Linked DNA regions of Homo sapiens: all the other regions are linked to region 1. The links are contacts of gene promoters, found by promoter capture Hi-C in blood cells and fetal thymus (Javierre and others, 2016). All regions are on one chromosome and are shown on one strand. Each heading gives the region's core, a stretch centred on a gene start or on the middle of the fragment in contact. The rest is flanking DNA. Distances are from core to core; before and after follow the strand shown.

The links. Contacts are between HindIII fragments. The CHiCAGO score rates a contact against its expected background, and 5 or more counts as called.
Region 2: a fragment that was not itself captured here is called in contact with the fragment with the promoter of DPF1 in region 1 in 2 of 17 cell types (total CD4 T cells and non-activated CD4 T cells); the score reaches 6.2 in total CD4 T cells.
Region 3: a fragment that was not itself captured here is called in contact with the fragment with the promoter of DPF1 in region 1 in 13 of 17 cell types (M2 macrophages, M1 macrophages, naive CD4 T cells and 10 more); the score reaches 13.8 in M2 macrophages.
Region 4: a contact is called between a fragment that was not itself captured here and the fragment with the promoter of DPF1 in region 1, in 2 of 17 cell types (total CD8 T cells and M2 macrophages). The highest score is 6.4, in total CD8 T cells.

Annotation. Positions count from the first base shown.
Region 1 is chr19:38,222,972-38,229,477 of GRCh38, reverse strand. DPF1 (double PHD fingers 1) reads left to right here and starts at 5,256. Exons shown (of 12, transcript NM_001135155.3): 1 at 5,256-5,364. The coding sequence starts at 5,336. RefSeq lists an enhancer at 1,229-1,999 and a silencer at 4,922-5,491. The HindIII fragment of the contact is 14,724 bases long and covers 1-6,506 here.
Region 2 is chr19:37,865,235-37,871,740 of GRCh38, reverse strand. All of the region lies in intron 2 of LOC105372395 (a long non-coding RNA gene), which reads right to left. Among named protein-coding and RNA genes, the nearest start is that of WDR87, 38 kb to the left of the region's middle. The HindIII fragment of the contact is 2,568 bases long and covers 2,027-4,594 here.
Region 3 is chr19:37,885,310-37,891,815 of GRCh38, reverse strand. WDR87 (WD repeat domain 87) reads left to right here. Exons shown (of 6, transcript NM_001291088.2): 5 at 1-264; 6 at 1,540-6,506. The region is part of intron 4 of LOC105372395 (a long non-coding RNA gene); the gene reads right to left. Among named protein-coding and RNA genes, the nearest start is that of WDR87, 18 kb to the left of the region's middle. The HindIII fragment of the contact is 9,115 bases long and covers 1-6,506 here.
Region 4 is chr19:37,950,616-37,957,121 of GRCh38, reverse strand. The region is part of intron 1 of SIPA1L3 (signal induced proliferation associated 1 like 3); the gene reads right to left. Among named protein-coding and RNA genes, the nearest start is that of SIPA1L3, 47 kb to the right of the region's middle. The HindIII fragment of the contact is 1,843 bases long and covers 3,139-4,981 here.

The DNA.
Region 1 (6,506 bases), core at 4,007-6,506:
GGGGACGCAGCGCGCGGACCGTAGTTGAATGGGGGCCCCCAGCGCGAACCCTTGCCCCGGGGGTCCCCACCCCCTGTCGCCCCCTGGGGTTGGGGGCGGGAGCCCCTCCAGGGTCGCGGGGGCGCCTCTTCTTTGTCGCTGTCAGTGAAGGAATGCGGCGCGGGCTGGGGGTGGCGGAGGCCGTTTCCCCACCCAGAGTGGGGGTAGGGGTTTCCCTCTCCTCCATCTCTCCCTCAGGGTCTCCGGAGGTGCCGGGCCTGCCCCGGCCGGGGCTGAAAGCTCGAACACCTAAGTCCGGACCTCGGTCTCCAGGGTTTCCATCACCCGCTCTCCGCTCATCAAAGCGCCTTTCTCTCTTTCCCCTTCTTTCTCTGAGGACCCCGGCCCTCGCGGCCGCAGGGTGGGAGCTGAGACGTCGGGGGTCCCCAGTTCCATCCCCGCTGCCTCCCCTTTTTCCTCCCGGGATCCCGGGAACTGGAAGCCCCGAACCCGCCGTCAGTCTGGACCGCGGCATCCCTCCCTCTCCCCGCGCATACACATCAAACGGGAGCATCTCTGATCCCTTTGGGGACCGGCTGCCCAGGAGGGGGTGCCGGGAGCGCCCTCGGTCTCCGGGGATTCCCTCCCTTTCTCCCTGGCCGCGGTCCTCCGAGCGTTCGCCTCTTCCCGGGCCCGGTGGCTGGGAATCCGGAAGCCTGGGTCCGAGCCTGGCCCCTCCTGACCCTCTCCTCTCCTTGCCATCCCTCGCGCTCTCCACACCTCCCCTTCCCCCTCTCCATCTCGCTCTTGCTTCCTCTTCGGGATCCCGGACTCCACGTCCCAGCGCTCCCCACCCCCCGTTCCCAGGCGGTGACAGCGGGCTCCAAGTGACAGGCACTCGGCCGCTCCCGCCCTCCCTCCCCGCAGGCGAGCGAGGCGCTCCCCTCCCCCTCCTCCCGGGCCTGGTGGAGGAGGCGGAGGGCGAGCGCCCGCGGCGTCGCACAAAGGGGCCGGGGCGACCTCCCCCACCCTTCCCCCAACCCCGTGCGCTGGCTGCCTTGACCTTGAACATCGAGGGCTGGGGGCGGGGGTGGGGGGTGGGGGGAGAGAGGGAGAGAGGGAGCGCCCCCCTACCCCACCCACGAGAAGGGATGCGCCTGCTGGCTGGACCAGAGGCCGCCAGTTGCTTCTGGTTTCTGGCGGGAATGGGGGTGGGAGGTGGAGGGTGGGAGTTGGGAGAGGAAGGGGGGCAGGGACTTAGAGGCAAGCGCCTACACGTGTGGCTTCGCCGTGAGCAGGGTGCCGGGAGCGGGTGTGTGGGGCTCGGGTCCGTGTGAGGTGGTGTATGATGGTGACACCCCTCTGCTGCCCTCTCACCCTAAGTGGCACACACAGACAGCTGTCTCTCCTGTGAGGGGACATCCGCAAAATGGCTGGGAACGGGGCTCTTGTGCAGGTTGGTGGATCTACAGGCGATGGGGCCCCTCACCCTGACCCTGGCCCAGACCCCTGGGAGGAGGTGTGCTACAGCCGTGAGCAGGGGCCCAGCTACAGTAAGCCTGGACTGGGAGGGCCCTACCCCTCTGTGCCCTTCCCTTCCAAAAGGTCTCTGTGGGGGTGAAGGTGGGGACTCCCTGGCTCCTGAAAGAATGTGAGTCAAATCCCCTGGGGAGAAGGAGCTGCAGGGTGCCGCCCTCGGAAGTTCCGACTGCCTGAGTTCCAAAACCAGCTTGAGCCACGAATGTTCCCTGCCGTGAGCCTCAGTTTTGCCATCTGTGTATGGGGGCTTCTAACAGCCCTTACCACCCGATGGGACTGTCGTGGGGCTAAGGCCATCTTTGTAAAGCAGTTAGCACAGAGACTGACACTGACCAAATGTAGTGATTATTATTAGTAGTATCAATATTGATTTATGAAATTGATTTCTACTGTGGGCCAGCTCCCACACAGGGCATTGGGGGATGGGGCAGGAGGATTGTTTGGGCCAGGGAGAGGACTGGGAGTTCAAGTGTGTAGGAGAGTATGTGGGAGTGGTGTGTGCAGGTGGTTAGGGCAGAAGGAAAGAAAGGAGAGCCCGCTGCAAGTGTCAGCCTGCGTCTGTGGGTAGATATCCTGCTGGTGGGCCGGGCATGGTGGCTTATGCCTGTAATCTCAGCACTTTGGGAGGGCAGGGTGGGCAGATCACTTGAGCTTAGGAGTTTGAGACTAGCCTGGCCAACACAGGGACACCCTGTTTTTACAAAAATACAAAAATTAGCCGGGTGCGGTGGCACAGGCCTGTAGTCCCAGCTACTTGGGGGTTTGAGGTGGGAGGATCGCTTGAGCCTGGGAGGTGGAGGCTGCAGCGAGCTGTGTTCATGCCATGGCACTCCAGCCTGGGCCATCGAGTGAGACGCTGTCCAAAAAAAAAAAAGAGAAAAAGAGAAAGAGGAAAGAAAGAGAAGAAAAGAAAGAAAGAAAGAAAGGAAGGAAGGAAGGAAGGAAGGAAGGAAGGAAGGAAGGAAGAGAAATAAAAGAAGAAAAGAAAAGAAAGAAAAATAGAAATTCTGCTGGTAGAGGAGGACTGTTAGGAAGGTCTGCACTCAGTGTCTACACTCGGGCTTCTCTTAATCAAATCGACATGAGAGTTTGGGGTGGGGCAGGAGTGAGTCTGCGTGTCTGAGGCTAGCGGTGTGGGAATCAAGTGTAAGAGGGTGTGTTACGGGACCTGTGAGCTAATGGGAGGTGAGAGAGGAAGGTGGGGTCACAGCTCACCGTGGGTAAGGTGTGAGGTGGCCACTATAGGGCCCTGGAGGCCAGAGTGATCGTAGGGGTGTCAGTGCCCCTCACTTAATCCCCTTGTCACCACTCCAGGCCATATGTGAATCAGAGACCTACCTCCTGTTCCAGGAGAGGGGCCGGCCAAGACCTTACCTGGCTTAGATGGGCGAGTTTGTGGAAAGGGTCTAAGACTAGAGGAGTGTGTGTGTGTGTGTGTGTGTGTGTGTGTGTGTGTAGAAGTGACCGTGAGTGTAGGAGGCCTTGACTGGATCTCTCTCTTGGGGGGATTTCAAGTGACAAAAATGGTGAAGGCTAGCGGGCCACTTCTGTCGGCTGGGGCGCCCCCTGGTGGATGAGGGCGTTTGTGGGCGTGTTAATTACAGCAGCCGCCCAAATTTGAATGCTGGCTCTACAGGGGTCCGGGTGGAAGAGGGGAAGGGGAAAGGGGGAGAAGGGGTGGGAAGGGGAAAGGGGGAGGAGGGGTGAGACGGGAGGGGGGACGGGGTGGTGGTGTTGCAGAGAGACTGGGTCAGTTTGTGACTCAGTGGGTCTGCTCACTCCCTGGGGATCTCTTCGGGTGGAGTCAGTGTGGGTGACAGTGGGAGAGAGAAGGAGGTCAGGACTACTTGGGGAGGGCCGTCAGGGGTGCCTGCCTCCTTCCTTCAGTCTTACCTTCAAAGAGCCGCCAGGGCATGCGGGCATGTGAGGTTACCTTCCTGTGCCTCAGATTCCTCACCTGGAAAATGCAGATAATAAAAGCATCCCGGGGTGAACTGTGCCCAGCACATGATGGGTGCATTTACTCATTCAACAAATATCTACTGAGCATCTATTTTTTTTTTTTTTTTTGGAGACAGGGTCTTGCTCAGTTGTCCAGGCTGGAGTGTAGTGGTGTGATCATAGCTCACTGCAGCTTCGATCTCCTGGGTTCAACCAATCCTCCTGACTCAGCCTCCTGAGTAGCTGGGACCATAGGCATGTGCCACCATGCCCAGCTATTTATTTTTTTTTTAGTAGAGACCAGGTCTCGCTATGTTGCCCAGGCTGTTCTCCTGAGCTCAAGCGGTCCTCTCATCTCAGCCTCCCAGATTGCTGGGATTACAGGCATGAGTCACGGCGCCCTGCTTACTTAGTTTTTTGTTTGTTTGTTTGTTTGTTTGTTTGCTTTTAGAGACAGAGTCTCGCTCTGCCACCCAGGCTGGAGTGCAGTGGTGAGACCACAGCTCACTGCAGCCTCAGCCTCCCAGGTTCAAGCTATCCTCCCACTTTAGCCTTGCAAGTAGCTGGGACTACACTGCTGCGCCATCATGCCCAGCTAATTTTAATTTTTTTTTGTAGACACAGGGGTCTGGATATGTTGCCCAGGTTGGTCTCAAACTCCTGGGCTCAAGCAGTGCTCTCATCTAGGCCTCCCGAAGTACTGGGATTGCAGACTGGAGCCATCGCACCTGGCCGCATTATTCTTTCTTTCTTATTATTTATTTATTTATTTTTGAGAGGGAGTCTCACTCTTGTTGCCCAGGCTGGAGTGCAATGGCACGATCTCAGCTCACTGCAACCTCCACCTCCTGAGTTCAAGTGATTCTCCTGCCTCAGCCTCCTGAGTGGGGGAGTATAAGCATGCGCCACCATGCCCGGCTAATTTTGTATTTTTAGTAGAGACTACTACCATGTTGGCCAGGCTGGTCTCGAACTCCCATCCTCAGGTGATCCACCTGCCTGGGCCTCCCAAAGTGCCGGGATTACAGGTGTGAGCCACTGCGCCTGGCCTGCCAGTCACCTCTTAAAATGCTTTACCTATATTTACTCATTTAATCCTCACAACACTCCAGTGAGGCATCATCCTCTTTTTACAGATGAGGAAACTGAGGCCCAGAAAGGTTAAGTCATTTGCCAAGGTCACATGGCCACCAAGTGGCAGAGCTAGGATTTGAACCCTGGAGGTGTGACTACTGTTTCTAACCTGCACTGCTGCTGTCAGGCCTGCAGAAGGCGTTGAGCAGGGCGGGGTGACCGTGAGCGTGGCTGCTGGGAGAGACAGCCCCGGGTGGGGTCTCTGGAGCCAGGAGGGACTTGGGTGGGGGGCGGTGAGGGGGTGTCTGCTGGAAGCATGTTGGTGAGAAGTCTGTGTGGGCACCTGGGAGGTGTCTCTGCGTCTCTTAGTATTGCAGTGTGTGTGCGTGTGGCTGTGTGAGTCCGTGCGAAGGTGTGTGAGTAGGAGTGTGTGGGAGGCTGTGAGTATCCGCGTGAATGTGTGTGTAAACTGCCATGCGTGGGCGTGTGCGAGTCCAGGTGTGCATGTGGTTGTGTGCACGCGAGAGCAGGATATGTGGACGAGTGAGGGCGGGTGAGTGACGGTGCGTGCCCCGGGCCCCTCCTCCGCGCCGTCCCGTCCCCGCGGGGTCCCGGGGGCCCCCTGGCCTGGGACTACCACTCCCAGCATGGCCCGGGCGGGCCCGCCCCGTCGCCGCGATTGGCCGTGGCCCTCGTGCTCCCGCCCCCCGGGAATGAATGGATGGGCGGCCTCAGCGCCCGCCCGACCGCTGGGAGGACCGACCCGGCGGGGACCTGCTGGGGGCAGGACCCGGGGAGCAAGATGGCCACTGTCATCCCTGGCCCCCTGAGGTGGTGCGGGCCGGCGGGAGGCGGAGAGGAAGCGCGGGCGGGTCTACGCGGGCCTGTGTGTGTGTGGCGACCGGGGGTGGGGCCGAAGGGGTGTCTGGGGGGCTGTCACCGAGTGCGGGGCTGCGCGGGGGTGCGAGAGTGTGTGACTGTGGGTCTCTGACAAGAATGGTGTCGGATGCACCGCTCCCTGGCGGGGTGGAGGGCGTGGGGGGCCTCCAGATTCTTTTTGGGGAAGGGAGACATCATCCCTTCCCTGCAACCCTCGGGTCTGGGAGAGACTGAAATGACCCGGGGGTGCGGGGGCCTTGGCAACTGGAGTGAAGTCCACACTACCTTTGTCTTGGGATGTGGAGTGTGTGTGTGTATCACTTATTTGTGTTCTGGTTTTTTTAAGAATTTTTGGGGGATAGGTGTGTGGACATGTGTCTGTTTCCTTTTATTCTGCACTAGATATCTTTGGATATTTGGGTCTCCCAGTGTGTGTCCGTGTCCTTTGGAACTATATGTCATTTGTCTTGTGTTCTGTGTTTTTGGGTATGTAGGGCTGCGTGTATTTGTGTGTAAATTTTTGTGTGACTATGGGTGGATTTGGCTGTTTCTGTGTTTTATATGTGTGTGTGTCTGTGTGGATGTGTGATATTTTAGATACTGGTTGCGCATCGTGCATCTTTGTAAATGTGTGTGTGTACCTGTGTGAATCTGTGTGATTTCTTTGTGTTGTGTGTCTGGATATTGTGTGTGTGGTTTGTGTTGTGTCTTTGGATACATGGGTAAGTGCCTAGGGGCGCAAGTGGTTTCTGTAGTTCCTGTCTTTTGACATGCTTGTGTCTTTGGATGCATGAGGGGGTGTATGTGTGTGTGGTGTGATGTTTCCATGTTGTGTGTCTTTGTGTGGGTGATGTGTTTCTGGTGTGTGTCTGTGGATATGTGATGTGTCTTTGTGCATGGTTATTTGTGTGATTTGTCTCCACACTATGGAACTTGGGATATTTGTCTTTTTCAGTAGATATTTATGTGTGCACGTGTGTGAGGTTTGTCTGTTTCTCCTTTGTGAGTATTGGGATTTGTCTCTCTTTGTGTGTGAATCCCGTGTGACTGTGTGTGATTTGTGTTGTGTGTCTGCATGTGTTCAGGTAGGGATA
Region 2 (6,506 bases), core at 2,061-4,560, 360 kb after region 1:
TTTTTGAGATGGACTCTCACTCTGTCACCCAGGCTGGAGTCCAGTGGTGTGATCTTGGCTCACTGCAACCTCCACCTCCCAGGTTCAAGCAATTCTCCTGCCTCAGCCTACCAAGTAACTGGGATTACAGGCATGCACCACCATGCCAGGCTAATTTTTGTATTTTTAGTAGAGACGGGATTTTACCATGTTGGTCAGACTAGTCTCAAACTCCTGACCTCAGGTGATCTGCCCACCTCAGCCTCCCAAAGTGTTGGAATTATAGGTGTGAGGCACCATGCCCGGCCAGGTGAGAAGATTTCAATATGGGAGTGGAAACCAAAAATAAAACTCTAAGCACCCCAAACAACTGAATGGACCCCTCCTCTTGGCCAAGGGCATTCTAAGGTAAACCTGAAACACTAGTTCCGGCAATGATGGGAATGGGTGGTTGGACATGTCTCATTATACCTTCTTCCCTTTGGAATTCAGGCACAGCCGACCAGCATGAACAGTGAAACAGAGACCTTAAGACTGAGAAAACATACTTTTTGTAGCAATAAGATACCAACATGACAGATAGGAGGCCCTGAAAGAAATGGAAGTATTTTGTTCCAAAATATATTTCTTTGACACATTTTGAAATGGCCCTGCAAAGCTGACTCTTGTGGGGAAAATCAACATTTGTAGAGAATCCCCTTCCCTTTTCAGGTCTTTTTCCTGATCCAGGAGAGAATGAGAGAATTAACTAAGAGTCTGGCACCTTTCTAAGTCTCATAATAAACATGTATAATCTATTACCTCTGAAACCTGCTACCTGGACACTTCATCTGCATAGTAAGAACCTTGGTCTCCACAACCCCTTATCTTAACCCAGACACTCCTTCTATTGATTCCAGGTCTTTTTTTTTTTTTTTTTTTTTTTTTTTTTTGAGATAGAGTCTCCCTCTATCACCCAGGCTGGAGTGCAGTGGTGCAATCTCGGCTCACTACAACCTCCACCTCCCAGGTTCAAGCAATTCTCTAGCCTCAGCCTCCCAAGTAGCTGGGGTTATAGGTGCTTACCACCACACCCAGCTAATGTTTGTATTTTTAGTAGAGACTGGGTTTCACCATACTGGTCAGGCTGGTCTCGAACTCCTGACCTCAGGTGATTCACCCACCTCGGCCTTCCAAAGTGCTGGGATTACAGGCGTGAGCCACCATGCCCAGCCTAGATAAAGTCAACCAACTGCCATTTAGAAAATTTTGAATCCACCTATGACCTGGACACACCCCACTTCCAGTTGTCCAGTCTTCCCAAATCAAACCAATCTACATCTTGTATGTATTGATTGATGCCTTATGTCTCCCTAAAATGTATAAAATCAAGCTGCAGCCCGGGCACCTTGGGTGCATGTTGTCAGGACCTCCTGAGGCTGTAACACTGGCCATGGTCACTGTATCTGGCTCAGAATAAATCTCTGCAAATATTTTACAGAGTTTGACTCTTTTTGTCAACAGGAGATACTTAAGCACTTAAGCAAAGAAAGTTAAAGCACTTTCCTTAACTCTACAAAGAGTTAAATAAAGAGAGAGGGAAGAAACATGAAAAGCACTCAACAGTCAAGACAGGTTTATTTTGGAGCAATAAACCTGAGAGGGGCTTCTGGCTGATTTCAGTCAGGAGCGTGCTCTATTACAGACTAAGTGTTTATTGGTGAGAGAGCTTGGAATGTTTCTGTGTCGGGGAGAAGTTTATGGTGGGGTTGGAATGTCTCTAGTTGGAGGGAAGGTTATCTTGGGGCTGACATCTCTCCAGCTGGCAGGGAGGTTATCTTGGGGCTGGCATGTCTCTGGTCAGGGAGGAGTCTGGAATGTGTCTGGTCGGAGATGTTATTTGTGGTTTATGGTCATGCTGACCTTAGCCATTAGGCTGATGCCCTTTGGATTTAGGCAGTTTTTAATCAAGGTAAACTTAAAACGACAGTGCTTGGCCAAGGTGGTGATACTCCTGCTCTGTCATGTTTGTCATGCTGACGTGGCCAAATCATGGAGATGGTAAGCTTGAAGGCGTAGGATGAACAGGGGAATACTGGGATAAGCCAGGTCCCTGATAAAGCAAGAGAGAATGGGGTCCAGACTCCAGGTGGAAGAATTAGCTTTAGACAAGGGGACAGGGATGTACCTTTCCAGCGTAGTGAGGGGTGTGAAAGGAAAAAATCTTGGGCCCCCAAAATCACTAAGCTAAAGGGAAAATTCAAGCTGGGAACTCCTCAGGGCAAACCTGCCTCCCATTCTATTCAAAGTCATCCCTTTGCTTACTGAGATAGATGCATATTCTGATTGCCTCCTTTAAAAAGGCGTATCAGAAACTCAAAAGAATGCCATTTGTCTCTCACCTACCTGTGACCTGGAAGTCCCCTCCCTGCTTGAGTTGTTCCCGTCTTTCTGGAGGGAACCAATGTACTTTTTTTTTTTTTTTTTTTGAGACAGAGTCTCACTCTGTCACCCAGGCTGGAGTGCCGTGGTGCCATCTTGGCTCACTGCAACCTCCACCTCCCAGGTTCAAGCGATTCTCCTGCCTTAGCCTCCCGAGTAGATTACAGACGCCCGCCACCGCACCTGGCTAATTTTTGTATTTTTAGTAGAGACGGGGTTTCACCATCTTGGCCAGGCTGGTCTTGAACTCCTGACCTCAGGTGATACACCCGCCTTAGCCTCCCAAAGTGCTGGGATTACAGGCATGAGCCACCGCGCCCAGCCAGAACCAGTGTACTTCTTACATATATTAATTGATGTTTCATCTCCCTAAAATGTATAAAACCAATCTGTGCCTCAACACCTTGGGCGCATGTCGTCAGAACTTCCTGAGGCTGTGTCACGGGCGCGTGTCCTCAACCTTGGCAACATAAACTTTCTAAATTGACACCTGTCCCAAATTTTCAGGGTTCATGGGGGAATAAGAAAAGATAGGAAAGTTTGTAGCTGTGACAAATGAGAAATAAAAATAAAATTCTAGTCTCCAATGGACTGAATGGACCCCATCTTGGCCAAGGGAACCCCACAGAAACCTTGGAAGCTGAGTTCATGGCCATAATAAGATGGGAGATCAGAGAGGCCTTGTTATACCCCCTCCTTCGCTACCAGTCATTAGCCTTTCTTCCCTAAGGGCTAAACAGAACTCCCTGCTTCCCCCCATTTTTTGAGACAGGGTCTCCCTCTGTTGCTCAGGTTGAAGGGCAGTGGCACAATCATGGATCACTGTGGCCTTGACCTCCCTGGCTCAGGTGATCTTCCCACCTCAGCCTCCTGGCTAGTTTCTTTGTATCTTTAGTAGAGACAGGGTTTTGCCATGTTGCCCAGGCTGGTCTTGGACTCTTGGGCTCAAGTGATCTGCCCACGTTGCCCTCCCAAATTTTTGGGATTACAGGCATGAGCCACCGCACCTGGCCCTAAACCAGCCCTTTCAAAAGACTACTGGCTTATCTTACCTGGTACAGAACAAAGACAAGAGTAATCCTTTTTGATTCCTTCACCCCTTCCTGAGACATGCTTCCTATTCCCTTTTTCTTCAAATGTACACCTTGTCTTATGTAAAAGGTAGATTTACTGGGCACTAACTAAAGTCTCACAATTATGTAATCATTTGTCTTACTGTGGGCCTCCCCCACCTCCGCCTTTAAGGAAAACGTATAAACACTAAACCTCCTGAGAACCTCTTTGTAGGCTCTTTGGAGATTCTCCAAACAGCCACAGATGTTTCTGTGACTCATGTTTACTGATTCTCAAGATGGCTCAATAAACCTCCATGATTTGAGACTTATGCCTCAATCACTCATTTTAGTTGTCACAAGTTAAGCAAGTTCCCAACTAATACATTCTATTTTTTCCCAAGCCACTCCTTCTTTTTCTTTCCTTTTTCTTTCTTTTTTCTTTTTCTTTCTTTCTTTCTGTCTCTCTCTCTTTGCTTCCTTCCTTCTTTCCTTCCTTCCTTCCTCCCTTCTCCCTTCGCCCTTTCCCTCCCTCCCTCCCTTCCTTCCTTCTTTCTTTTCTTTTCTTTTGTTTCTTGTCAGGGTCTTGCTCTATCACCCAGACTGGAGTGCAGTGCCGTGATCATAGCTCATTACAGCCTTGAACTCCTGTGATCCTTCCACGTCAGCTTCCCGAGTAGCTGGGACTACAAGCGTGCACCACCATGCTCGGCTATGTTTTTCTATTTTTATAGAGACAGGGTCTCGCCATGTTTACCAGGCTGGTCTCAAACCCCTGGCCTCAAGCAATCCTCCTGCCTCAGCCACCCAAAGTGCTAGTGATTACAGGTGTGAGCCACTGGATCTGACCCACATTCTATTTTTAGAGTGAAGTAAAAAGTTACTATCTGGGAGTGTGAAGGGAGTAAGAAGAAACTTGATTTTTGTAGGGCAATGATCTCCAAGGAGTACAATATTCTCCAGGAGTGTAGGAAGCCTGCAAAGTGCAAGAGCAGTGAATGTTGTCAATTCAAAACAAGTTTAGACTTGGATAAGGAGAGACCTTAGTTAGAAAGGTGTGGTAGCATGTGCCTGTAGTCTCATCTACTTGGGAGGCTGTGACAGAAGGGTCGCTTGTGGTTATGGTCAAAAAGTTGGAAGCTTGTGTAGGGGTGGGTTGCCCCTACACACCTGTGGGTGTTTCTCGTAAGGTGGGACGAGAGATTTGGAAAAGAAAAAGACACAGAGACAAAGTATAGAGAAAGAAATAAGGGGACCCGGGGAACCAGCGTTCAGCATATGGAGGATCCCGCCAGCCTCTGAGTTCCCTTAGTATTTATTGATCATCTGTGGGTGTTTCTCAAAGAGGGGGATGTGTCAGGGTCACAAGACAATTGTGGGGAGAGGGTCAGCAGACAAACACGTGAACAAAGGTCTTGGCATCATAGACAATGTAAAGGATTAAGTGCTGTGCTTTTAGATATGCATACACATAAACATCTCAGTGCTTTACAAAGCAGTATTGCTGCCCGCAGGTCCCACCTCCAGCCCTAAGGCGGTTTTTCCCTATCTCAGTAGATGGAGCATACAATCGGGTTTTATACCGAGACATTCCATTGCCCAGGGACAGGCAGGAGACAGATGCCTTCCTCTTGTCTCAACTGCAAGAGGCATTCCTTCCTCTTTTACTAATCCTCCTCAGCACAGACCCTTTACGGGTGTCGGGCTGGGGGATGGTCAGGTCTTTCCCTTCCCACGAGGCCATATTTCAGACTATCACATGGGGAGAAACCTTGGACAATACCTGGCTTTCCTAGGCAGAGGTCCCTGCGGCCTTCCGCAGTTTTTGTGTCCCTGGGTACTTGAGATTAGGGAGTGGTGATGACTCTTAAGGAGCATGCTGCCTTCAAGCATCTGTTTAACAAAGCACATCCTGCACCGCCCTTAATCCATTCAACTCTGAGTTGACACAGCACATGTTTCAGAGAGCACGGGGTTGGGGGTAAGGTCATAGATTAACAGAATCTCAAGGCAGAAGAATTTTTCTTAGTACATAACAAAATGGAGTCTCCTATGTCTACTTCTTTCTACACAGACACAGTAACAATCTGATCTCTCTTGCTTTTCCCCACAAGCTTGCAGCACTTTGGGAGGCCGGGGCAGGCAGATTGCTTGAGCCCAGGCGTTCAGTATCAGCTTGGGCCACAGCAAAGCTCCATCTCTACCAAAAATACAAACATTAGCGGGGCGTGGTGGCACGTGCCTGTAGTCCCAGCTATTTGGGAAGCTGAGGCAAGACTGCCTGAGCCCGGAGGTCCAGGCCGCAGTGAGCAGTGATTGTGCCACCGTACTCCAGCCTGGGAAACAAACTGTTTCAAAAAAATTTTTTGAAGTGGGAAGCTTGAATTTAAAATTTCAGAGGGGCCTGGGTGCAGTGGTTCACACCTCTAATCCCAGCACTTTGGGAGGCTGAGGCAGGTGGATTGCTTGAGTCCAAGAGTTCAAGACTAGCCTGGGCAACATGGCAAAACCCATCTCTACAAAAAAAAAAAAAATACAAAACTAGCTTGGCGTGGTGGTACATGTTTGTGGTCCCAGCTACTCAGGAGGCTGGGGTGGGAGGATCACCTGAGCCCAGGAGTTGGAGGCTGCAGTGAACTGTGATCATGCCACTGCACTCCAGCCTGAGTGACAGAGTGAGACCTTGCCTCAATAAATAAATAAATAAATAAATAAATAAATAAATAAATAAATAAGTAAATACATACATACATACATACACTTTCAGAGGGAAATCATTCTGAGTAATACATTCCAGGGTGTGGGTGGCTGATGTGGAGTAAAAGTGAAAGTTGTGAGAGTTAGTGAGTCCAGGGAACAGAAACCCATGTTCAGAGGAGCCATCACTCAGTACAACTGCATACCAGTAGCTGGACAGGAAGCACAGGAGCCAGGTATAAATCTGGCCTCTGAACAAGGGACAGAATCATCAATACCACACCATTCTCTCTTCTATAAGATTTGTCCCTTCCCCCAGAGGAGTGAGCCTAGCAGCCATGACCCTCCTTTTGGTCA
Region 3 (6,506 bases), core at 1,538-4,037, 340 kb after region 1:
AGATGATCGGGGAGGAACCCCTGGACCATCTACTGGGGATGCGGGCCACAGATCTCCAAATCCTTTCCACTCAAGTGGAGCAGAGATTGAATGAAAACCTGACCCTGTCACATAGAGATGAAAAGCCGGCTTTTTCTTTAGATGTCTCAATGCCTTCTGAACTTAAATCCTCCCTGAAACCTCCTACAGTTTCTGAAGAATCTGAAGTGGCCATCAAGCCCAGCAAAGGCCAAAGACGAGGCCAAGCAGGGGTCAAAAAGCATAGTATGTAAGGGGTAATCTGGTCTGTGCCTCAGGGTCCCCAAGAGGCAGGGTAGTTAGGGTTAAAGTGGATCAAGAGATACTAGGTGGGCTGGCGGGACATGATGGCTCATGCCTGTAATTCCAGCACTGGGACGCTGAGGTGGGCAGATCACTTGAGGTCAGGAGCTCGAGACCAGCCCGGCCAACATGGTGAAACCCCGTCTCTACTAAAAATACAAAAATTAGCCAGGCATGATGGTGGGTGCCTGTAATCCCAGCTATTTGGGAGGCTGAGGTGGGAGAATCACTTGAACCCAGGAGGTGGAGGTTGCAATGAGCAGAGATGGTGCCACTGCACTCCAGCCTGGGTGACAGAGCGAAACTCCATCTCAAAAAAAAAAAAAAAGAGAGATACCAGGTGGGAAGAGAGATAAGTGGAAAGATCTCATCATAGAAAAGACACTCTCGGGTGAGGGACTAAGGGAGGGCTAGCATTAGGAGAAATACCTAATGTAGATGATGCTGGGTTGATGGGTGCAGCAAACCACCATGGCACCTGTATACCTATGTAACAAACCTGCACGTTTTGCACATGTATCCCAGAACTTAAAGTATAATTTTTTAAAAAAATGTATAGATAAGGAAATTATAGTGTATTCATAAACTGAAATACTACTGTGATAAAAAAGAGTGATACATGCAACAACATGGAAGAATCTCAAAAACTATTGAAAGAAAGCAAACACAAAAGAGCACATTTTTTAATGATTCTATTTATTTGGAATCCTAAAAAAGGCAAATGAATCTACAGTCACAGAAAGCAGATCAGTGGTTGCCTAGGGCCAGAGGTTAAGGGTAGATAGATGTTGACTGGGACACTATATAGGAGGGAATTTAGGGGGATAATAGAAATGCCTTATATCCTGATTGTGATTGCAGTAATTACAAAAGTGTATACATTTTTCAAACTCATCAAACTGTTTGCTTAAAATGGGTATATCCTGTTTAAATTATACCTCAGTAAAATTGATTTTTATGAAAGCAATGAAAAAAAAAGACTTTCTAAGGAAGGATCCACTCAAACTCAGGAAGACTCTAAGGCCTAGCTCTCTAGGATTTGGCAGGAGTAGGGGGCTAGGAATAAAGCAAAGAGAATGCTTTTTTTTTTTAAGGCCTCAGTTCTCTCTGTTGTTACTTCTTATATGACAGTTCTTCTTAGCTCACACCTAATATTGGGAAGGGTTTCATGTCGCTTCCCATACTTTGCTTACCTCCATCTCTCGATTTTTACTGCAGGCCAAAAATGGTTGCGGGGTCTCAAGAAGACGAAAGAGAGAGACTCTAAACAGATGAGCACAGAGCCAGGCCTCTTAGAGGATGAAAGTGGGACTGAGGCCGCACCAATTGAGATGGAGGAAGCATCCGTCTATTCCCAATGGTCTTCAAGCACCAGTGTAATAAAGCTCTCAAAAGATGTTGATTCTCAAGAGAAAGATATCTCGAAGGATCACATTGCATTGACCCTGAAGAGGCTGCAGAAAATACGTGACAAAAGAGACAAGAAAGCAACAGCTCAGAAACTCAAAAAGAAGCACAAAAAGAAGGGAAAAGAAGCCAAAGTTATAAATGAGGAAACTACACCTCCTGTAATGGAACAGCCAGTTACTAAAAAGGTTAAAATCCAAGGGCGGGGAGCCTCTGGAATATCTGGCCGCAGGTCAACCGCTGGAGATGGCTCATCATGGAGGGACGATCTATGTCGTCTTATGGCCCTGAGGATATCTGGTTCCCAAACAAAAATGTCAGAAAACCTAAACGCTGAGCTAGTGACATTTGCTCAGGAGATGCTGGTAGATAGGCACCCCAGCTGGGAACTCTTTCAGGAGATCTGCCCCCTATTGAAGAAAGAAAGTAAGGTTCTGCTTGAGGACCTTGATTGGGATGTAGTCCCGCCAGAGAAGAAACCAATTTTTATCCAGGAAGGAGCAATTAGAGAGGACATGATACAAGGTGTGACCCAAGAGGTGATCAGACACAAGGAAGTGATGCCAAGGGAAGAAGAACAAGCACAAAAGAAAGCAAGAGACATGCTGGGCTTGGAGGAAACCCAAGTGATTTTGAAAAAGGGCAAGAAAGTTATTTTTTTAGAACCAGGTAATGTAACCATGGGAAAAGAAATATCAAAGAAAGAAGAGAAGAAAACCTTTCAGAAGTCACCTAAGCAAGGGAGGAAAGCTGTCCAGAAGGAAAGAAAAGTAGGAAAAATAAAGAGGGAAATGACCAAAGAAGAGAGGGATATGAGTGAGGAAGTGGAGGAAATGGCCACACTAGAGGAGAAAGTGGTCAAACAAGAAGGAAAACTGGTTATGATTGAGAGGACACCATCTTGGCAGGACTGGAAAAAGGCCTGGGATGAGTGGAAACAGGTCCATGGTGAGACAAGGAAATCCTGGAAGGCATGGAAGGAAGAATGGGAGAAGAGGCTTCTTCAGGAAGAGGAGAAACTACATCAGGCTGGAGAGAAGCTATCCCCGGAGGAGGAAATGCTTCAGGAGGACAAGAAGCTGAAATGGGAGGAGTGGAAACAAGTCTGGGAAAATATGTTATCATCTAAGTCCAAGGAGCAACAGTACAAGGATGAGGAAGAAGTGACTTTGGAGGAAGAAGTGTCTCGGGAGGGGGAAGAAAAAGAACAGCAGGTCACAGAAGAGCAGAGACACATCCAAGAAGAACACAAATGGGCCAGAATACACAGGAAACGAGCCCGAGCTGAAAAAAAACGAGCCCAAGAAGAGAGGAAATTAGCACAAGAAGAAGAGAAACTTGCACAAGAAGAGAGACAGTTGGCCCAGGAAGAGAGAAAACTGGCCCAGGCATACGTGAAAATAACCCAGGATGACAGGGAAATGGCCCAGGCAGAGGGTAAGTTTGCCCAGAAAGAGGAAACACTGGCCCAAAGAGGGGAGAAGCTAAGCCAGGAGGCGGAGAAATTGGCCCAGAAAAGGAAGAAACTGGCCAAGAAATGGGAGAAAGTGGCTAGAGAAGAAGAGAAACTAGCAAAGAAAGGAGGGAAACTGGCTGAGGTGAAAAACATATTGGCCCAGAAAGTGGAAGAACTGCCCCAGAGGGAACAAAATCTGGACTGGCAAGAAAAGGAGCTGGCCCAGGAATTGGAGGAACTGGAATGGGACATGGAAGAACTGTCTTGGAAAGAAGAGGAACTGAATCAGGAAGAGGGGAAACTGGTTGAGGAAAAGAAGAAACTGGCTGAGGAAGAGGAGGCATTGGCCTGGCAAAGGGAGAAACTGTCTGAAGAAGAGACAAAACTGGCCCAGGAAGAAGAGTTGCTGATCCAGGAAAAGGAGAAACTGGCCCAGCACAAGGAAAAAATGCCTGAGGAAGAGGAAAGACTGGGACGGAAAAGGGAGCAATTGATTGAGAAGAAGATGAAACTGGCCCAAAAAAGGGAAAGATGGATCAACAGCATGGAAGAACTCACAAAGAACAAGATGATACTGTACCAGAAGAAGAATCTGGCTCAGGAAAAGAAGAATCTGGCCCAGGAGAAGGAAAAATTGGCTCAGAGGAAAGAGAACCTACTCTATAATAAAGAAAGACTCACCCACAGCAAAAAGCAATTAGTGCAAGTAAAGAACAAATTGGGAATGTTCAACAAGATACTGGCTCAGGTAGAGGAGAAGCTGACACAGGAAAAGGAGACTGTGATCAAGAAGAAGGAGAAACTGGCTGAAACAGAGAAAAAATTGGTCCAAGTAGAGGATAGTTTGGCCAAAAAACAGGAGAAATTGGCCCAGGAAAAAATGAAATTAGCTCTGGAGAAGGCAATGGTCCAAGGAAAGAAACGGCTCAGAGGAGAGTTGGATATTGCTAAGGAAGAAAAGGCATTGAACCTGGAAATGAAAAGACTGGCTGAGGAGAAGATGAGACTGGTTGAGGGAAAAGAAACACTGTCTAAGGGAGAGACTCCAGAAACTTCTAGACAAAGGAAAATGACTCAAGTTGAACAAGAACTATTTGAGAGAAAATTGTCACTAGAGGAGAAGATACTGCTACATGAAGACAGGATATTGGCCATGGAGGAAAGCGAAATTGCCAAAGGAAAACTGGAATTTACTAGAGGACAGAGAATATTTGTCCAGGGGCAAAGAAAGTTAGCCAAGGCTTCAAGGAAGTTGATTAAAAAAAGGGAGAGCCTTTCCAAGGAACCAGCAAAACTGAACAAAATCTTAAAGGCACTTCAAAAACTAACCAGGGATGAAAGGAAACTAACACAGGAAGAAATAAAAATGACAAAGATGAAGAGGGCACTCTTTGTTAAGGAGCGCAGGTTGAGTATAGAACAGAGTAAGCTGGATATCAAAGAGTGGGATTTTTCTGAAAAACGATCAGAACTGACTAAAGATGAGAAGAAACTGGCTCGGAAGCAGAGAAAACTGGCCAACAAAATGAGAAGAATGATAAACAAAGAAGAAAAAATGACTGAGGAAGAGAGCAAATTGGCCAGAAAGCATTCAGAAGTCATACTGGATGATGAAGAGGAAGGAGGAATAGAAGAAGAAGAGGTAATCCCATTCCTTAAACGAAGGTGGAGAAAGAGGAAAGAGGCCAAGAGAGGTGACAAACCAAAAGAAAAGTTTTCCAGTCAAGTGGATGAAGTGGAAAGTGAAGAGCATTTTTCTGAAGAAATGGAAAGCCTGTTAGATGAACTAGAAAAGCAAGAGAGTTTGTCTTCTGAGGAGGAGGAGGAAAGGGAGGAAGAAGAGGAAAGGGAGGAGGAGGAGGAAAGGGAGGAGGAGGAGGAAAGGAAGGAGGAGGAGGAAGGGGAGGAGAAGCAAGTGGAGAAAGAAGAGGAGGAGAAGAAGAAGAAGAAAAAGGAAAAGAAGAAGGAGGAGGTTCAGGAGAAGGAAGAAGTGTTTGAGGAGAAAGAAGAAATTATGAGTGAGGAAGAGACAGAAAGTTTGAGTGACGAGGAAGAGGAAGAGGAGAGCTGCTCATTGGAAGAAGAGGTGGACAGGGAAAAAGAGATCTTAAAAAAAGAAAAACAATTTAAGTTACAAGAACAAAGAAGAAAGAGCCTAAGAGGAAGGGAAAGAGTCCTTTCCATTTTAAGAGGAGTTCCTCATGGCAAAGGCAGGGCTATAAGACTAGGAGTTCTAAAAAGCCCTTTGAAGAAACTGATGTCAACAGCTCTGGAGATGAAAGAGAAAACACCAGTGCCAGTGCCGGAGAAACAAATATCCTGGGAAGATAAAAAGGCCACAGTAGTTGAAATACCCAGGAAATTCTTAGGGACAATGGATAAAGAAAGAGAAGTGATGGGAAAATATGAACCCATACCTCCACATGTTTTGGGTACAGTTTTGGAGTCCCAAGCACAGGACTTAAAGACCCCATTTATGTCCCACATATTAAGGAGGACCGTGGAAGCTGAGGAACTCCAACACAAACCACTAGGTGCCTGGTGGAAGTGGTTTTTGCAGCATCCACCTCTGATGGGACAGACTGAGGTACAGTTACCTCTCTCCCAAATCCCAGCTAAGGAACAACATGCAGACGTAAGCCTCTCAGATGTAGAGTGGATCCGCCATGTCCTAGAACGAATGGAAGCGGGAGAACAGCTTTCCAGGGATGGTTTCCATAGACTGTGCCAGCTGCTCAAAGACCTTGCCTCAAAGGGAAACTTAGAATGGCTGCATCTGGCCAAACATGAAGCCATTGTGTACCGTCACAGACAGGCCCTGGAGTCACAAGACACAAGGATCTCAAGTAGACAGTCCATGAGTCCAAAATACCTGAAAGTGATTCCTCCTATAAAAGCAAAGGAAAAGGAGAGCTGGCCAAAACCTTTGGCTGTCCCCACACAAAAGTCCCCATTAGCTACCAAGAGGATTCCAGACCCAAGGGCTAAAAATTGGCATCTTCTAGGAGAACCTTACAGAAGTGAGAGGGCACAGCAGATATCCATTGCTCACAAGGAGATGGAAATGCAATACTTTTATCCTGCCACCAGAGACATTTTTCCAAGTGCCCATGCCTCTGTGGAAAAACAAACCCTGGCACTGATGTTTCAAAAGGACTTCTGGGATTTTAAGGATAAACGCAGGTTTCCTAAACTGCCCAAGTTAGAGAAGAAGACACAGCCCATTTCTAAAAAAAAGGAAGAGTTGCCTTTGTGGGAGACATTTGTGGCACTGTACCATGTTTTGCGGATGCTGCAGCAGCGATATCCAAAAGACAGCACT
Region 4 (6,506 bases), core at 2,811-5,310, 270 kb after region 1:
GAAACAAACCCTTATATTAATAATCAAATGACTTTTACCATAGTGCTACCTAATTCAGTGGAGGAAAATGGTCTTTTTTTCAACAAATGGAGCTGGGATAATTGGATATTAATACGCAAAAAGATAAATTTAGGCCCCTTATGTAATACACAAAAATGATATCAAAATTAATGATAGATTCAAAGGCAAGAGTTAAAAGTATGCAACTTCTAGGAGAAAACATGAAAGAAGAACTTCATGATACTGGGTCAAAGAGTTCTTAAATATAATACCAAAAGCACAATCCATAAAAGACTAATTGATAAACGGAATTTCCAAAATTAAAAACTTTTATATTAGGGTGGGCGTGGTGGCTCACACCTGTAATCCCAACACTTTGGGAGGCCAAGGTGGGCGGATCACTTGAGGTCAGGAGTTCAAGACCAGCCTGGCCAACATGGCGAAACCCCATCTCTACTAAAAATACAAAAATTAGCTGGGCATGGTGGCGTGTGCATGTAATCCCGGCTACTCAGGAGGCTGAGGCAGGAGAATTGCTTGAACCCGGGAGGCAGAGATTGCAGTGAGCCGAGATTGTGCCACTGCTCCAACCTGGGTGACAAGAGTGAGACTCAGTCTCAAAAAAAAAAAAAAACAAAACTTTTATACTTCCAAAGGCATGACTAAAAAAATAAAAATATTTTCTGGGAAAAAATATTTGCAAACTACATATCTGATGAGTGTTATCCAGAACATATCAAGAACTCTTACAACTCAATGAAATAACAAGATTAAGAAATAGGCAAACAATACAAATACATATTTCACCAAAGAAGATACACGAATGGCCAATAAGCACATAAAAAGATGATCAACAGCATTAGTCATCAGAGACATGCAAATCACAACTACAATGAGATACCACTGCACACCCACCAGGATGGCTGTAACAATAAGCGTTGGTGAGGATAAAGAAATACTGGACCCCAGCCAGGGGCGGTGGCACGCACCTGTGGTCCCAACTATTCAGGAGGCTGAAGCGGGAAAACAGCTTGAGCCCAGGAGTTTGATACTGTAGTGCGCCATGATCACGCCTGTGAATAGCCATTGTACTCCAGCCTGGACAACATCATGAGACCCTATCTATGAAAATGGCGCAGCCACTTTGGAAAACAATCTGGCAGTTTCTTAAAAACTTAAACAGAGTTACCAAATGACCCAGTAATTCCACTCCTGAGCAGAAATGAAAACATGTCCACACAAAGACCTGAACATAAATGTCTATAACAGCACTACTCATACTAGCCCAAACTGGAAACAATCCAAGTATCCATTAACGAATAATGGTAATGAAATTATCCATTCATGGTTAACGAATAAACAAAATGTGGTTTACCCATACAATAGAATATTATTCAGCAATAAGAACAAATGAACGACTGATATGAGCTATCACCTGGAGGAAGCGCAGAAACATTATGCTAAGTGACGGAAGCCTGGTACAGAAAAGACTACATACTGTATGACTGCATGTATTTGAAATGTTCAGGAAACGCAAATCTACAGAGACAAAGAGCAGGTTAGTGGTAGCCTGGGCCTAGGCGTGGAAGCAAGGACTGCCTGCAAAGAGGTACAAGATGGATATCTTTTGGGGTGGTGGTAATATTCTAAAACTGGATTGTGGTGATAGTTATGCAGCTTCACAAATTTACCAAAAACAGCTGAATTGCATACTCTTTTTTTTTTTTTTTGAGACAGAGTTTTGCTCTTGTTGCCCAGGCTGGAATGCAATGGTGCGATCTTGGCTCACGGCAACCTCCGCCTCCTAGGTTCAAGCGATTCTCCTGCCTCAGCCTCCTGAGTAGCGGGGATTACAGGCATGTGCCAACACACCTGGCTAATTTTGTATTTTTAGTAGAGACGGGGTTTCTCCATGTTGGTCAGGCTGGTCTCAAACTCTCGACCTCAGGTGATCTACCCACCTCGGCCTGCCAAAGTGCTAGGATTACAGGTGTGAGCCACCATGCCTGGCCTTTTTTTTTTTTTTTTTTTTTGAGAGACAGCATCTCACTCTGTCACCCAGGCTGGAGTGCAGTGGTGTGATCCCGGCTCACTGCAACCCCCGCCTCCTGTGTTCAAGCAATCCTCGTGCTTCAGCTACCCAAGTACCTGGGACTACAGGCATGCACCACAATGCCTGGCTAATTTTTGTATTTTTAGTAGAGACAGGGTTTCACCATGTTGTCCTTGCTGGTCTCGAACTCCTGGCCTCAAGAGATCTGCCTGCCTTGGCCTCCCAAAGTACTGGGATTACAGGCATAAGCCACTGCGCCCAGCCTGAATTGCATATTCTGAATGGGTGACTTTTATGGCACGTGTGTATATATACACACATACAGGCGGTGGTGGTGACAACTTCTGTAACCTAATCACCTCTGGACTTCCCACTCCATATGAAACCGCCTGGTTCTTAAAGCCGAGAGGCTTCACGCTTGGATGTGCTTATCACTAGGGGTTTACGGAAACTTAACAGATACAGGAGTATCTTGAAAACAGTGTTTTCAAGGGAAGCAATGTTCAGATCCTCAACATCCACAAGTTCCTCTTCCTAAAACTGATCTGGCTGCAAACCAGCCTGTCTCCTTCCCCACTGCCCACCCGCTGTTGTGCACTCCCCCATTTTCCCAAGGAGCACGACCGAGAGGTGTGTAAACCTCCAGGACTCCAAACACACAACATCAATATTGGTTTCGGGGAAGTAGCCTTTAGTGAACAATAAAAAGCTACTTAAACCCCCAGACTTGCCTGTCTTTCCCTGACTTAAGTATCTTTCTGCCAAACATGAAACTGGGCTTTAAAAATAGGATTTTCTGAACCATAGTAGGATCATGAATGTCAAAGCAGTATAGGTTAGTGGCTCTGATTTGTTCAAAGGGAACATTTTTCAGGACCACTGAATTTTTCTAGATCCACCAAGAAAAAATTCCCAGGGAAAAATTTACATGATTGCTTTCAGCTTCTGTGTACTTTACTCAATAAGGTAGTAAAAACTTTTTTTTATCTAACCACATCATAAAATATTTCAATTACATTCGACCTTCAAAATGTGTACTATTTTCTTCTCCCACAAATAAGACAAATTTAAAGTTACCATAAGCTTATTTTAGATGTTAGCTTTACAGTGTACAAGGAGGTATACAGGGGCTTATCAAAATTCTTTTGGGGAGGATGCAAGCAAAAATGTTTAACGATGATCAGATTAAATTTGAATAATCCTGGCTAACCCATGCCCTAATTCCTGGTGGCTGAGCTGTAGGAACTCAGCATGGGGCACAAATTCTGGGGAAAGCAAGATTTCAGACAATGGCAAAATCACACGTGCCTGGGGGTACAGCCAGCAGCGAGGAGTCAGTCAGGCCTCACAGCCCCTTCTTTCCCAGCTTTCAGGGGCCTCAAAAGCAAAGCTGCTCAAGGGAAGATTTGAAAAGGGATTTTCTGAACCGATAGGTCAATTCAAAAGATTTCCTTTCATTCGAGTAAAAGGGCTTTCGCCCCTCCTTCACCTCAAGTAAGTTTGGCACGCATGCACACACATACACACACACACACATGAGGAATGCATTCACCTTAAATTACCTTGAACTAAGTCAGTGATTACCCTCTTGAATATTTCCCACTATTAGCAAAATTCCTCCTAAGAGCAGACTTTGTTCCGAATTGGTCATGAACTCTATCCAGCTCTTTCCAAAGTTACCTGGGGAGGTACACACTGGGTCAACCATTATCCTAATAAAGTGCACAGATCTGACCAAATTCCTCCTGAAACATGATGCGATACGCCAGGTTTAGCGGCCAGTGTGCAAGGCTGGGTCATGGGCAGGAAAGGAATGTTTTTTTCCAAAGAGGAAAAAAACTGCAGACTTAAACTCTACTTTCATTCATTTGAGAAGGATCCTGGGCCCCCTCTATGGATAGGATTGTAAGCTGAGAATGCGGGTTCACGCCATTCTCCTGCCTCAGCCTCCTGAGTAGCTGGGACTACAGGCCTCCGCCACCACGCCTGGCTAATTGTTTTTGTATTTTTAGTACAGACGGAGTTTCACCATGTTAGCCAGGATCTCCCGACCTTGTAATCCACCCACCTCGGCCTCCCAAAGTGCTGGGATTACAGGCGTGAGCCACCGTGCCCGGCCAAGAATCCTCTGTGCATACACACACTCTGAAGTGTATGCAATCACCCAGGATGGTGTTCAAAATGCAGATACCCAGGCCTCAGGCCCCAAACCAGAATCTCCAGCAATGTGGAACAGAGCTGCTGTATTTTAACAAGTTCCCCAGGCCAGTCTGTTGATCACATAAAGCTAAGAACCGCCACTCAGGAAAGTCTAGCAAAGTGGTTCTCAAATATCTGATTCATACAAATCATTTCTGGAGAATTATTTATTTATTTTTATATTTTATTTTATTTTTGAGACAGAGTCTCACTCTGTTCCTCAGGCTGGAGTGCAATGGCACGATCTTGGCTCACTGCAACCTTCACCACCCGGGTTCAAGGAATTCTCCTGCCTCAGCCCCCTGAGTAGCTGGGATTACAGGTGCCTGCCACCACACCTGGCTAGTTTTTGCATTTTTAGTAAAGACAGGGTTTCACCATGTTGGCCAGGCTGGTTTTGAACTCCTGGCCTCAAGTGATCTACCCACCTCGGCATCCCAAAGTGCTAGGATTACAGGCATGAGCCACTGCGCCTGGCAGAGAATTTTTTAAATTTAAATATAGATTCTAGGGTCCACTAAAATTACTGTATTACTTAGGACTCTTTCGGTTGCAAGTGGCAGAGACCCAATTCAAACTGACTTGAGGGGAAAAAGGGCCAATGTTTTGGCTCCCATTACTGAGAAGTTCAGTTACCCAAAGAATTTGTCTGTAATGAATTATTTCCATCTCCTTTCCACTCGACCCTCTGAGCAAAGATGGTCCCCAGGCCCCCAGCAGCATTAAGCTTACACTCTACAACTTGGCACCTCCATAGGAAGAAAGCTCCTCTTCTTTCCTGGGAGCTCCAGAGAAAGACCTGTCTTAATTCTGATTGGACTGACTCACCTCCTCCCTTCCTTGAACCAATCCCTATGGCAGGAAGATAAGGAATGACCTGAACTGCCCAGGCTACTCCTAAGGCATTTCTAAGTCCAAACCAGGTAGACCAGGACATTCCACAACAGTGGGGCTTTTTTTTTTTTTTTTTTTTTTTGAGACAGTCTTGCTCTGTCGCCAGGCTGGAGTGCAGTGGTGTGATCTCGGCTCACTGCAGCCTCCGCCTCCTGGGTTCAAGTGATTCCCCTGCCTCAGCCTCCCGAGTAGCTGGGACTACAGGCGCCCGCCACCATGCCCGGCTAATTTTTTGCATTTTAGTAGAGACGGGGTTTCACTGTGTTGGCCAGGATAGTCTCTATTTCCTGACCTCGTGATCCGCCCACCTCAGCCTCCCAAAGTGCTGGGATTACAGGTGTGAGCCGCTGCGCCTGGCCCGGGGCTTTTTTTAAGTTGTTTTTTTTCCCACTTCTGTTTCTAAAACTTCCTTCTAGAAAATGTGAAAAATATACAAAAGTTTAAAGAGGAAGATGAAAATAATCTGTAAAGAGGAAGATGAAAATAATCTGTAATCATCCTACCAACTAAAATTTTTAGATCTTCACACTCAAAGCTGTGCACATGAGCACTGGTCTCCTGATTAGAATCCTATTCTGTACAAAGGATGACACTGTGGTTGAGTCTTCATGACAATTCTCCCAAAACTGAAGATAAACATTGTAGTCATTTTCATGTTTGTTCAGCCAACACTGGTTTGCTTCCCTTTTCCAGTTAATTTGCTCTTGTTTGTAACCCCTCAAGATGTGGGTATTTCCTAAGAAGAATCTCTGGATCACAGTACAATTATAAAAATCAGAAAGTGACAGCCTTACGGTACTGTGATCTAACGGACAGACACAATTCCAGTTTCAAGGGCATATTCCAGATTCCCTGCCATATCCCCAGTGCCTGGGGTAAATAATAAATTGCACACAGCGGTCTCAGTAAGTGAACGGACGGGATGGAGGAAGAGCAGTTCCCAACAGGAAAACCCCAAAAGAATGGTGAATGGTTGTAGGGCGGCCAAACCAGCAGATGATCTTCCTCTCCACCTGCGGGAGCAGATGCTCCAGGAGTGAAGCCAGAGAATCCCAACTGTTACCAAGATTCCCCAGGTGATGCCAACCCACAGCCAGGTTTAAGAATCACCGTCTGGGGAATAGATATAACCAGACACAAACACAGCATTTCCCCAGAAGCTTCTTCCAGATCTGCCTTTCACAAGAGAAGAAGGAAAAGTGCCGCATGCCGGGGTACTGGGGACAGGCGGATCAGACCTGGGAGGGCTCGCAGCGGAGGGAGCAGCAGACGGGCTTGTGGGGAGCAAGCGCCAGTCTCGGCACAGAAGGGCCCCGCGCAGCCTTCATGACAGAGGCGAGGCAGGCCCTAGAACCAAGCC